Linked DNA regions of Homo sapiens: all the other regions are linked to region 1. The links are contacts of gene promoters, found by promoter capture Hi-C in blood cells and fetal thymus (Javierre and others, 2016). All regions are on one chromosome and are shown on one strand. The core of a region is centred on a gene start or on the middle of the fragment in contact, and the rest is flanking DNA. Distances in the headings are between cores, read along the strand shown.

What was found. Contacts are between HindIII fragments. The CHiCAGO score rates a contact against its expected background, and 5 or more counts as called.
Region 2: a contact is called between a fragment that was not itself captured here and the fragment with the promoter of FAM229A in region 1, in 2 of 17 cell types (non-activated CD4 T cells and naive CD8 T cells). The highest score is 8.2, in non-activated CD4 T cells.
Region 3: a fragment that was not itself captured here is called in contact with the fragment with the promoter of FAM229A in region 1 in 1 of 17 cell types (naive CD8 T cells); the score reaches 5.4 in naive CD8 T cells.

What each region holds. Positions count from the first base shown.
Region 1 is chr1:32,360,490-32,364,726 of GRCh38, reverse strand. FAM229A (family with sequence similarity 229 member A) reads left to right here and starts at 2,242. Exons shown (of 3, transcript NM_001167676.2): 1 at 2,242-2,769; 2 at 2,851-2,997; 3 at 3,192-3,457. The coding sequence starts at 2,636. The coding sequence ends at 3,294. TSSK3 (testis specific serine kinase 3) reads right to left here and starts at 2,188. Exons shown (of 2, transcript NM_052841.4): 1 at 1,881-2,188; 2 at 415-1,132. The coding sequence starts at 2,025. The coding sequence ends at 471. LOC124903933 (a long non-coding RNA gene) reads right to left here. Exons shown (of 3, transcript XR_007065642.1): 3 at 3,399-4,237. It overlaps BSDC1 (BSD domain containing 1), which reads left to right. Exons shown (of 11, transcript NM_018045.8): 11 at 1-94. RefSeq lists silencers at 2,311-2,510, 2,661-2,960. The HindIII fragment of the contact is 11,112 bases long and covers 1-4,237 here.
Region 2 is chr1:32,183,432-32,187,902 of GRCh38, reverse strand. It overlaps TXLNA (taxilin alpha), which reads right to left. Exons shown (of 11, transcript NM_175852.4): 4 at 3,287-3,378. Among named protein-coding and RNA genes, the nearest start is that of TXLNA, 6.0 kb to the right of the region's middle. The HindIII fragment of the contact is 2,923 bases long and covers 1-2,751 here.
Region 3 is chr1:32,158,172-32,162,845 of GRCh38, reverse strand. KPNA6 (karyopherin subunit alpha 6) reads right to left here. Exons shown (of 14, transcript NM_012316.5): 5 at 4,485-4,579; 6 at 3,315-3,446; 7 at 2,143-2,231; 8 at 800-899; 9 at 322-485. Among named protein-coding and RNA genes, the nearest start is that of TXLNA, 19 kb to the left of the region's middle. The HindIII fragment of the contact is 1,103 bases long and covers 1,166-2,268 here.

The sequences.
Region 1 (4,237 bases), core at 993-3,492:
GTGGCTCATGCCTGTAATCCCAACATTTTGGGAGGCCAAGGTGGGTGGATCACTAAGGTCAGGAGTTCCAGACCAGCCTGGCCAACATGGTGAAACCCCATCTCTACTAAAAATACAGAAATAGCCAGGCGTGGTGGGAGGTGCCTGTAATCCCAGCTACTGGGGAGGCTGAGGCAGGAGAATCGCTTGAACCTGGGAAGCAGAGTTGCAGTGAACTGGAATCGTGCCACTGCATTCCAGCCTGGGCGACAGAGCAAGACTCTTAAAAAAAAAAAAGGAAGTCTGAATGAGGCCCTTTGATTCCATGAAGATCTCTAAAAGGAAAGAGTAGTAGTAAGGCTGGGGTAGATGTAGGTAAGTTTTAGGATAAGTAAACTTAAAGCGTAAAATATATATCACCATTTTAGAAGCGGGTTTTTGGGTTTGCTTTCTCCCCCTACTTTATTGGAGAGCACTTGCCATTGCTTTTATCAAGTGCTTGCTAGCCATGGATGCCAACTAACTTCTTCAATTGAAGGCCGGAGGATCATATCGGGTTCCAGGAGCCTCTTGAGCAGGTCCTGGCAATCGGCCGAGATGCTCAGATGAGTGGGGAAGGACACCCCCTTCTGCTGCTGCCACAGCATCTTGGGGATGTCTGTGTCGTCAAAAGGTAGGCTGGCACAGAGCATGACATACAGGACCACACCCATGCTCCAGACATCACCTTTTTTGCTATCGTGGGGAATGCCCTGCAGCACCTCGGGGGCAGCATAGGCTGTACTGCCGCAGAAGGTCTGGCTCAGCTCCCGGTGTGACTTGGGCAACACCTTGGCAAAGCCAAAGTCAGTCAGCTTCAGGTTGAAGCCCTGCAACAAGGCGTTCTCACATTTGAGGTCCCGGTGGGCCACACCACAGCCATGGCAGTAGCGGATGGCCTCAACCATCTGACGGAAGAGGGCCTTGGCCCGGCTTTCAGGCAGTGGCCCCCCATTCAGCACGCAGTCAAAGACATCCCCTCCCTCAGCGAGCTCCATCACCAGGCAGATTTTCCCGTCGGCAGACTCCAGCATCTCATACACCTGGATGATGTTCTTGTGGTCCAGGGTACGGACGATTTGGAGCTCCCGAGGGAGGAATCTCTGGATAAACTCTGAGGAAGTAAGGGGAGGAGAGATGGGCTGGCAGATCAGAAAGGCCCACCTCCTCACACCTGTCTCCTGCCTTCCAACTTCTGCCCACCTTGTCTGGGTCTTATTTCTTGGCTTTCTTAATGGTCTTAAGTGTGTCTAGCTGCTTGGACATTGCAAAGAATGTTCACTTCTATTATTTTTGTCGTTAGTATATCATTCAAAAGAAGCACTCCCCACCAGCCTTGTGGACTGTTGTGAGCAGTCTGTGAGACTGGATATCAAGGTGCTTTAGGGACTTTTAGACAAAGCCACAGAATCACAAATTATAAGGCCTGATTTGTCCACAGGGTGGTGAGCCAGCTCCTCCCGCCACTGTCCCCTGACCCCACAATTCTTTCCATGAGCCCTGTCTTCCTTTTTCCCATCTCCACGGGCCTTGGCACCAGCCCCTGTTCTCTACCAGCCCTGGTTGTGGCCTCTGCCAGTCTCTGTTCCCCTGCCGGAAAGGAAAGCCTGGCTCAGGTTTTGCCTCTGAGGATCCTTCACCTCATGCCACTTTCATCTTGCATTCTGGGGGGGTGTAATGTTCCTGGACTCCCAGAACCCCTCTGTTCCCCACTGACCCACTCCAGAGCTGCCATCGGGCTTGCTTGGTTCCAGGCCAGCGGGAGCAGGGAATGATCGAATGATCGTTCTAACAAACAGGAGGAAGCACCCACCCACCTCAGCCAGTCCTCCCTCCTTCCCTCCAAAGGGGCCCCGGCTCACCTTCTGGCCCTCCCATCTTGTCTATAACTTTAATTGCCACTTTTCTTTGGTGTTTTTTGGAAAATGCTTCTTTGACTTTTGAGTAGGTCCCTTCCCCAATGGTCTTGCCCAGCTGGTACCCATTGGAGAGCAGAAAGTCCTCCATGCTGTCTAGCGCCGCCTTCCTATCACCCTCTCAGCTCATGCTGCCTCTGAGAGGCAGCTCTACTCCACCATCGCCCTTGGCCTGCTCCTTTTCTCCCCAAGGACTTCATCCGCAGCCGCCCCCAGCGTTAGAACATTCTCTGTCTGGACACAGCGGCGGGTGGTGGGGAGGGACAGGGCCAGACATTTTTAAACTCCGGTGCAATTGTGATGTAGATGCTGTGTGACCCTTGGCCAAAATGGGCAGTGCCCCTACCTGCCCTCACTACCACCACCAAACTCAGCCCGGATTAAGTCACCGCCGAGCCCGCCCCCGTGCCAGGCATTGAGTTGTAGTCCCGCCTGGGAGGGCGCTCCGCCGCGTCTGTGTGGACCGGGAATGCGCGGCTCCTCGGCGTGGACGCCGCCTCGCGGCGGGTTGCCCTGGCCTGCTGCGCCCCCCTCGGGTGTCCGGGGTCTGCGCGACCCCGTCTCCAGGCGCCATGGCCAGAGGCCTCCAGTCCCCGATTCTGGCCCGCGCTGAGTGCCAGGGGCGGCAGGGGGCACCGTTGGGGGTTCTCCAGTGGGAGGAACGTGCTCTGTGAGGTCAGCGCGCCGCGGCCCGGGTCACAATGCTGCCCTCCTCGACGCCCGGGCCCGGGCACGCCACAGAGACCTGCCCGGCTCCGCCTGGACCGGAGCGTTCTCCCGCGGCCAGGGCTCCGGCAGCTGCTTCTAGCCTGGGACCGGTCTCAACCGCCGGGAGGTGAGCGACGGCCCAGGGGGCGGGCGCGAGGCGGCGGCGCCCGGCGACCCGGGAGAGGCCTGACCGCCACTCCCCGCGCAGAGCGCCCCGGGGCTTGGACATGAGCGCCCAGGAGCCCCCGCAGGGTCGGAGATTCCCCATTGAGGCCGGAGACTCCCGTGGCCTTGCCGCCGCCCCCGAGTCCCAGGACAGCCCGGAGGCGGTAGCGACGGAGCACAACCCGGTCAGGTAAGGCCCGCGCCCCACCCCCGCCTCCGCCCGTCCCGCGGCCCCGCCCTCCGTCCCACTTGGCGCCCCCAGCAGTCAGGACCCCGCATCCACGTCCGGACCCCCGGGGACCCCAGGTGCACTCCCTGGGTGCGCCCCACAGGATGGGCCAAGCCCCTGCCTCAGCGGCCCCTGTCGCGCGTCAATTTCCCCAGGCCGCTTCGTCGCTGCCCTGGATGCCACTGCCTGACGCTGCTGCACGTGCCCATCGACGTCTACCTCGCCATGGGCGGGAGCCCCCGGGCCCGCGCCACGTGAGTGCGCCTGCTCCCTGCGGCTCCGCGGGAGCTGGGCGGGAACGAGGCCCCCAGCGGGCCACCACGCTGAGGTCGCATGCGCCGAGCACGAGACAATGATGCACATTTTAAAATAAAAGAATGATGCACATTTTAATAAAGCACAGCACAAACTGTTCTTTCCACTCCGGGCTGGCAGTGTATGTCTATCCGTCGGGCCCACCAGCTGCTCTGCCCAGTCCAATAACACTTTCCCTTCCGCAGCCTCCTCGTTTGGACCCAGCCTTAGGGGCCCGCCCTTCCGCCTTTCAACCTACGCCACTTCACTCCTCTCGTATCTTGCTGGTCCTGACCCCTCCTGGGCAGCCTTTCCCTTGGGCCCTGCCCTGGTCCATCTCTCTAACCCTCTGGTGATTCTCCGGTGAAATTCACATCACTGTGCTGGACCCTGGCAACCCACAGAAGCGGGGAACAGGAGGAAGAGGTGGACCGACAAGTAACATAGAATACAGCCATAGGCCACCCACACCAGGCTATCTATCTATCTTATCTATCTATCATCTATCTATCTATCTATCTATCTATCTATCTATCTATCTATCTATCTATGAGATGGAGTCTCGCTCTGTTTCCCAGGCTGGACTGCAGTGGCATGATCTCTGTTCACTGCAACCTCTGCCTCCCAGGTTCAAACAATTCTCCTGCCTCAGCCTCCCAAGTAGCTGGGACTACAGGCACCCGACCAGACCCATTTTAATCCTCTCGAGCGAGAAGTTCTGCGACAAAGTTCTGCGACTTGCTCTTTGTGGCCCTAGGTGCCTGGGACCTTCCTTATTGGAAGGGTTTGGAGCTGCCCCAGTCCATCCTGAGCCTTGGTTTCTCCCAGGACTGAAGTGATCATAAAAAGATTGGGGAAGAGGCCATTTGAAAAATGGTGGCTTGCCAGGCGCGGTGGCTCACGCCTG
Region 2 (4,471 bases), core at 41-2,540, 180 kb after region 1:
TGGGGGGATCACTATGCAGGTCTAGGGTCTCCTGAGCTGCCCTGACCCTTACCCTCTCAGGCCAGGAGCACTCTCATGGGCTGATGCTGTGCCGGTGCTTACACGCTCCTCCCATGAACTCACAATAACCCCAAAGGCTCCACCGTAGGGACAGAGAAATGGTAACTCACTAGGGCAAGCAGGGGCCACACAGCCAGCAGATGCCAATTCCTATTCCAGCTCTGACTCTGGGCCACTAGAGCCACTTCAAGCTGTTGCATTTCCCCAACTTGCTGGACACTCATGCCCGAGGATGAGACCACCTGCTACCGTACCTTGTGCCTATTAACAGACAGACCCCCATCGCTCCCTCGCATTCCTTCAAAACGTTAGCGCTGCGTTCATCAGCGCTCTCCCCAACACAATTACTTTTCTCATTTGTGGCCACTTCAGTATCAACAGATAATCCTTCTAACTCCCTGGCCTCACAGTCCATCACCTCTTCCACAAACCCACTCCTTTCCCCAGCTCAGTTCCCCTCCCATGACCCTATCCAGGCCTGTACAACAGAAATATAATGCAAACCACATAAGTAATTAAAAATATTCTACTGGCCGCACTAAAAAAGTAAAAAACAGGTGAAATTAATTTTAGTAATATATGTATTTAACCTAATATCCAAAACATTACAATTTCAACACGGAATCAATGTAAAAAAGTGAGGCCGGGAGTGGTGGCTCATGCCTGTAATCCCAGCACTTTGGGAGGCTGAGGCAGGCAGATCACTTGAGGTCAGGAGTTCAAGACCAGCCTGGCCAACATGGTGAAACCGTTTCTACTAAAAAAAAAATACAAAAAAGTAGCCAGTTTGGTGGCATGCGCCTGTAATCTCAGTTACTCAGGAGGCTGTGAGGCAGGAGAATCGTTTGAACCTGGAAGCAGGACATCACGCCACTGCACTCCAGCCTGGGTGACTGAGACACTCTCTCACAAAAAGATGTTTTATATTCTTTGTTTTTGCTTAAGTCTTCAAAAGCTGATGTGTATCTTACATTTATAGCATGTTCAAATTCAAACTGGCCACATGTCAATTAGCTAGAGACGAATTTATCTTGGACAGCGCAGATCTAGACTTTGTCACTACCAGAGAGCACACCCACTATCTCAATTTCCAGCATCCCAGTCCAGGACTACCATCACCTATCTTTTTAGCTCATTCCAATCAGTATCTGTGATCCTCAGAAAGTCTCTTACCCTATAGGACCTCCAATCCATTGACTCAACCATCCTTCCACTCTCCTTTAAAATAACTACATTACCTGGCTTGGATTTCTTACACCCTCAACTCTCTTGGCCCTTCCCCAGTAGTACTGCAACCCTAGTAAAGCACCTTCCTGCTTTACACCAGTACTATAACAACCCTACTTGAAGAGTCTCACTTTAAATTCATGGCCACCAATTTCAGGAAGACCAGCAATCCCAATACAATGCATATGCTATTCACACTCCTCTCCTTCCAGACAACTATTTCATCGTTCTCATCAAATCTCAAAACACAGAAGAAACTAGAGAATCAGGGGCACAAGCTGCACATCTACCAGTCCACCTGCCCCGTCCTCTCCTCCAGTCACACAGACCTAGCCATGTGGTTACCACAGCCAAGCCCCCTTCTTGGGCAGGCCTCAGCTCCCCTCCTCTACTCACAACACCACTCTAGCAACTCATTTCCTCTCTTGCATCAGCAATTTTCCCCTGGCTGGATCACTCCAAAAGGGTGCTTATCTTCCTTATACCTTTTATTTAATCCTTACAAGAATGTCATTAGGCAGGTATGACATTCCCCATTTTAAAGATGAGTAAAGTTCCTTACAGGAAAATATTAATAAATGTGTGTGGAATGAATTAATTTTAAAATAAATACTTAGAGGCCAGGCACAGTGGCTCACACCTGTAATCCCAGCACTTTGGGAGGCTGAGACGGGCGGATCACGAGGCCAAGAGATCAAGACCATCCTGGCCAACATACTGAAACTCTGTCTCTACTAAAACATACAAAATTTAGCCAGGCATGGTGACATGCACCTGTAATCCCAGCTACTCGGGAGGCTGAGGCAGGAGACTCGCTTGAACCTGGGAGGTGGAGGTTGCAATGAGCCGAGATCGCGCCACTGCACTCCAGCCTGGTGACAGAGCGAGACTCTGACTCTGAATAAATAAATAAATAGGCCAGGCGTGGTGGCTCAAGCCTGTAATCCCAGCACTTTGGGAGGCCGAGGCGGGCGGATCACGAGGTCAAGAGATCGAGACCATCCTGGCTAACACGGTGAAACCCCGTCTCTACTAAAAAAAAAAAAAAAAAAAAAAATAGCCTAGCATGGTGGCGGGCGCCTGTAGACCCAGCTACTCGGGAGGCTGAGGCAGGAGAATGGCATGAACCCAGAAGGCGGAGCTTGCAGCGAGCCGAGATCGTGCCACTGCACCCCAGCCTGGGCGACAGAGCAAGACCCCGTCTCAAAAAATAAATAAATAAATAAATACATACATACATACATACATACATACATACACAGGCTGTGACCATCAATGGATAAATCTGTTAGTTCAAATTCTGACAAGGGACCTGATGATGGAAGAATCTGGCTGCCCCACCCCCAACCCACTGAACAATGTTACAACAAAGTGGGAAGAGCATGCTTTGCATTTATTGTGATGGAACATGAAGTACTTATGAAGAATTCTTGTCAAAAAGTTGAAGCTGAATTGGATCAAGCTTTAGAGCTAACTTCTACTTCACTTACATGTACCAGGAGGTAAAGAAGTAAAATGATACCACAGAGATGACAAAGCTAGAAGGGGGCATCCTACAAGACAGCTAGTCTAGTTTCTGTTAAAAGTCAATGTCATGGGGAATATGAGGAGGCAGTGACAAGAAGACTGCTCTGGAGTAAAAGGAAAAAGTATCAAGTGACTAGTGTTAGTTTTATTAACTGTGATAATGGCTCTATGCATCTGTATTTGAGGAAGAAGCATCAAGATCACAAGGTGTCTTGGACTCAGGCCAGGAACAAGGGCTCTACCACCTTGGAATCATTCTTTGAGAAATTTCTTTCAAGGAATATGCAGTTTCTCCTCTTGCTGCACAGCCCTGAAGAGGCTGGCTGGAAGTGATTCCCCATTTAACAGATAGTTCAGAGAAAAGCTGAACAGGAATTAAGCCACCTACTTGACTCTGCACCCCCAACCTTACACCAGGTGGCATGCTGATTTTCCCAACGCAGGGAAGGTGCCCGCGGAGGGGGGAACTGACCAGTTCAGCATACTTCTTGCACAGAGCAGCCAGCTTCTCCTCTGGGGTACTCAGAGTATTCAATGTCTGCATCAGCAACGTGATCTCCTTCCCTGAAAAGCACAGGAGCAAAGACATGCACCCTCTTCTCCAGGTGTCCCCTCCAGGCCTGGGCTCACACTCATGAGTGCTGAAGACAGCCCTCCCCATCATACTTTATATTTTGCTTGTTGATTAGCTGCCTTCCTTGCCATAAGGACCAACTCAATCCTGCCCTCACTATAGCCCCAGTACTGTCCATAGTACCATCACAGAGGATATGCTCAACAAATGCTTATCAAATGAACGACTGTACCCTAGTGAAATCTCCTTAGTAGGCACCATTGGCAGGAGAAAAAAACTGCCTGCTCTACCAATAGAAGAAAGGTGTCCCACTTATGAATTCAGGGCTACTGTTTCATACTGTTTCAATGCAAGGAAGGCCCACCCTCCTGATAGAGGTAGGATCCAAAAAGGAATAGGTATCTTAGCCTCCTTGAGAAATACTAAACTCTTGTCAACAGAGTAGCCAAACAGTGAACTTTAAAATGAAGATACTTTCGGCCAGGCAAGGTGGCTCATGCCTGTAATCCCAGCACTTTGGGAGGCCGAGGCAGGCGGATCACGAGGTCAAGAGATCGAGACCATCCTAACATGGTGAAACCCCATCTCTACTAAAGACATACACAAAAAAATTAGCTTGGTGTGGTGGCACGCGCCTGTAGTCCCAGTTACTCCGGAGGCTGAGGTAGGAGAATCGCTTGAACCCAGGAGGCGGAGGTTGCAGTGAGCCCAGATCGCGCCACTGCACTCCAGCTTGGTGACAGAGCGAGACTCTGTCTAAAAAAATTAATTAATTAAAAAAAAAAGGCAGGGTACAGTGGCTTACGCCTGTAATCCCAGCACTTTGGGAGGCTGAGGCGGGCGGATCACGAGGTCAGGAGATCAAAACCATCCTGGCTAACACAGTGAAACCCCGTCTCTACTAAAAAAAATACAAAAAAATTAGCCGGGCATGGTAGCAGGAGCCTGTAGTCCCAGCTACTCGGGAGGCTGAGGCAGGAGAATGGCGTGAACCCAGGAGGTGGAGCTTGCAGTGAGCCGAGATCGCGCCACTGCACTCCAACCTAGGGACAGAGCGAGGCTCCATCTCAAAAAAAAAAAAAA
Region 3 (4,674 bases), core at 468-2,967, 200 kb after region 1:
TTTTTTCCTTTGAGACGGAGTCTTGCTCTGTCACCCAGGCTGGAGTGCAATGGCACGATCTCGGCTCACTGCAACCTCTGCCTCCCAGGTTCAAATGATTCTCCTGCCTCAGCCTCCCAAGTAGCTGGGATTACAGGCGCCTGCCACTGCGCCCAGCTAATTTTTGTATTTTTAGTAGAGACGGGGTTTCACCATGTTGGTCAGGCTGGTCTCGAACTCCTGACCTTGTGATCCGCCCACCTTGGCATCCCAAAGTGCTGGGATTATAAGCATAAGCCACCGTGCCCAGCCAGAACCTGTACCCCTTCTAAGACCACTCACATCAGCAGCTCTACCAATCTCCGGCAGACTCCGGAGTCTATGACTGCCTGGATCTTCTCATTGGGGCCATCAGACAGATAAGAAAGGGCCCAGCAAGCATCTGCCAGCAAGTCCGAGTCGCTGCTGAAGAGTAGGCGAGACAGTACAGGCAAACAAGGAGAGACCTGTGGGAAGCAGAGTGAGAAAGACTCACAGGGGAACAAGACTATATCAGCTCTATCACGAACCCTAACATTGCAACCACCGCCCCCACAATACACACACACAAGTAATTCCAGACCCTAGGGATCGCTACTACATTAAACATTTGGGTCTACCTTTTCACTTTACTATCCAGGTACACAAGATCATCTACTTCACTAACAATTGCTTCTTTCAGTTTCCCATGATTTGAGACTCCAAGGAGTATCCCAAAGACTTAAAAACTCCATATGAAGGAACCTGATGTCACTCAGGGTCTAGTAAGTAGCTCTCTCACCTTTGCAAACTCTGGGGGTGGGTTTTTCCCTCGGCAGAGATTTGACAGGGCCCAGACTGCATTCCGTGTCATCGTCAGTCGTGTGGACTTGGTAAGGAGTCTGAAGGAAACAGCAAAGCCAGATCCTGAGCACTGAGGCCTTGGCATAGGACTGTTGCCAATGAACCCAGAGACAAATCCAATGAGACCTCTCAGACTCTAGCAGCCTGTTTCTTCCTACTCACAGACCTAAGTTAATAGAGCTGGTATAGGTTAGGAGGCCAGGCTCTATACAGAGTATTCATTTCAGGACCAGCTGTGGCTAGTTAATACCATAGATAATAGGGACGAAACAGAGGGCTAGATCTGGAGTAAGCCTGTAAAGCTTCTAAAGTGGGATATATCATGCCCATAACCCTGGCCACAAGTCCAGGACAAGGAATGGTGTTCTCTGGAAATAAAAGCTAAAAGTCTAAGAAATAAAAGCTATAGGTCTACTGTGAGAGCTTTAGCCACACAGTATGGAATAATTTTCTGTGAAGGGTCCAAGAAAGTGACAGTGGTAGGCTATGAGACTGTGGTCTCTGAAGAACAGTTCATTCATCTGTTTTGGTTTAGGCATAGTTTACTCTAAGGGTACGGAGGGAAGGATGGGAGAAGGATACAATGACGCTTCACGGGGTCTTTGATCTATAATTTACGACAGAGCTGTCCGATGTATGTATGCAAAACCCCATAACAAATCAATGCATTTTGTAGAGAAGGTTGGATTTTTCCAGGTGGGCTAGTCCTGCCTCTCTCCCCTGGCTCAACAATGAGGAGGATATGAGGATATGACTAACATGAGGTTCTGCAGTGCCATGAAGTGAGGAACAAGATCCTTTTTGGCAGATGGGTGGCACAATCTTTTTTTTTTTTCACTCTTTTGCCCAGGCTGAAGTGCAGTGGTGTGATCAATCACAGCTCACTGTAGCCTTGATCTCCCTGGGCTCAGGTGATCCTCCCTGCCTCAGCCTCCCAAGTAGCTGAGTCTACAGGTGCCTGCCACCACACCTGGCTAACTTTTGTATTTTTTGTAGAGTTGGGGTTTCACCATGTTGCCCAGGCTGGTTTTGAACTCTAGGCTCAAGGGATCCACCTGCTCTGGCCTACCAAAGTGCTGGGATTACAGGCATAAGCCACCATGCCCGGCCACAACCTTCTCAATCTCCAAAGATACCTATCTTTTACTTTGGCAATCAGAATGCATTTTTATAGTTTTTGCACTTACCTATCATCTTAAGGAATCAAGTATGCTGCCCCCAAATGACCTGCCACGTGGCCACCCAGTAGACGCCCAGGTACAGATGATTATAATTACTCACGTTAACAAAGGATTAAGGATGGAACAGTTCAAGACGTAATCTCGGCAAACAGAGCTATCTCCAGCTATGTTTCCCAGTGCCCAGACTGCCTGAAAAGGGGATAATGAAACTGTCACCCACAAAGCTTGGTACTCCTGTGAGTACTTTATAGCCACAACTGCAAAGTGAGTACCCACCAGGATGAGAATGATGTCAAGGCCCCAAATATACTACACAAGCTCAGGTAACCTCCCTATTGAAATTCTTACTGAGCACTTGTTCTACAATGACCTATCCCTGGGAGTTCCTGGTTCAGCAGGGAAAGACAGGCTGCCATCTGTACTATAGCCACAGAAGCCAAAACAATATCGCCCAGAAAAGGAGAAAGTAATCAGAAAGTTGCATTTTTTTTTTTTTTTTTTTTTGAGACGGAGTCTCGCTCTGTCACCCAGGCTGGAGTGCAGTGGCACAATCTCTGCTCACTGTAACCTCCACCTCCCGGGTTCAAGTGATTCTCCTGTCTCAAGCCTCCTGAATAGCTGGGATTACAGGTAAGCTCCACCATGCCCAGCTAACTTTTTAGTATTTTTAGTAGAGATGGAGTTTCACCATGTTGGTCAGGCTGGTCTTGAACTCCTGACCTCGTGATCTGCCCACCTCGGCCTCCCAAAGTGCTGGGATTATAGGCGTGAGCCACCGCGCCTGGCGAAAGTTGCACTCTTGTAGCTGCCTTGGACCAAGTCTATAAAAGAGCCCACTACCACTCTCCAATTCTATCCAACTAGTAAGAATTCAATGGGAGAAATGGAAGTTGTATCTTTATCTCCATGATTTGTGGGTACTCAGATATGGGTACTGTGGTGTCTTTTTTCCAATGGCACTTCCAACAACAAATGTATAGAGTTTTTTCCACATCAACCACCCATTCTCTGATACCAACCATGTGTCCAACGATTTAATTCAATTCTGACTCTAACACCTAGAGTTAATGCAGAGTCCGCAGGTTAGTCCCACAAGACTGCCCCAACTTGAGATACCAGTTGCAAGTCCCAGGGGCCATCTGTACTTGACACCCCTATCACTCAGGAAATTCCAAGAGTTTTAACACTGTGCCAAGAACCAGGACAAAGACCAAATATATTTTTTATTATACCACAGGTACTATAAAGAATCACACCAAATCTAAGCATTACCTGTTCCTGAACATCCTCAAAGTCTGAATTAAGCAGCTCTATAAAAATGGGGACAGCCCCTGCTTCAATGACAATTTTGGTCTGCTGAGAGGTTCCAGAGGCAATATTCGTTAGAGCCCAGGCAGCTTCAAACTGAAAGTGAGATTAAGCAATGATTGAAAGGTCATTTCAGACTGAGCAGCCATGCCTATCAGCTGGCTCAGAACAGTAAGCCTCCTGCCCATGAATTTAAAAAACCAAAACAAAACCTCACAAAACACAAGCAAGCCTCTTGCCCACGAATTTAAAACACACACACATAAAATACAAGCCTTTCCCCTCCCGTCTTTAGAGAGTGGGAAGATGCAGTGATGTGATATAGATGAGAATAAGACATTGGGCTTCCAGGGTCCCAGGTTTAGTCCTGCACTACCACAACACCCATGCATCCTTTGCCAGGTCACTCTTTTATTTCCTGAGCTTCACTTTCTTCATTTCTGAAATGAGGATTAGAATGAAATGGGTCTCTCAAAGTCCCTTTCAGCTGAGTTCTGGCAAGTTCCAATGGATTGACCCATCACCCATCTCTGAAACAAGAGACCCAGAGAGGCTAAACAATTTGCCTCAGGTCACACAGGTAGTGGACTATAGCCTCTGATTTATAACTGAATGATCAGTCTATCATAGTCTGGTGCCTTTCCTTTGAAATTGTTTTAAGGAAGAGATTCTGGCTGTGAGGGAACTGATGGTTTCTCCTGAATGTTTCCTAACATTACTTTTGAACTTCCTGAGAGATATGTCAATAGAAGTATCCCACTGCAATTTCTTGGAAGTAGGGCTTTCATCTAATAACCCCTTCCCAGTAGTGGGGGACTGGGGGTGGGATGGGGATAAGTAATGGGTACAAAAAAACCCAGAAAGAATTAATAAGACCTACTATTTGGTAACACAATAGGGTGACTATAGTCAATAATAACTACACAATTTAAAATAACTTAAAGTGTATAATTGGATTGTTTGTAACTTAAAGGATAAATGCTTGAGGAAATGGATACCCCATTCTCCATGATTTGCTTATTTCAAATTGCATGCCTGTGTCAAAACATCTCATGTATCCCATAAATATATATACCTACTATGTATCCCCCAAAAATTAAAAGACAAAACAAACCCCTTCCCTTCAGGCCTCACCTGTAATGTACAATTCTCATTCCTCTTCAGAAACTCCACGAACCGATCCACCACTCTTGGAGTGTTGATAACTTCATCTATTGGAGGACTAGGCTCTGGATAAGGGAGAAGGGAAAATAAAAACACAGGAGAAGCTTTTGCTGATCCCTTCATGGGGGTCAGCTTGCAATCCTTCTTAGACACTTCTGAC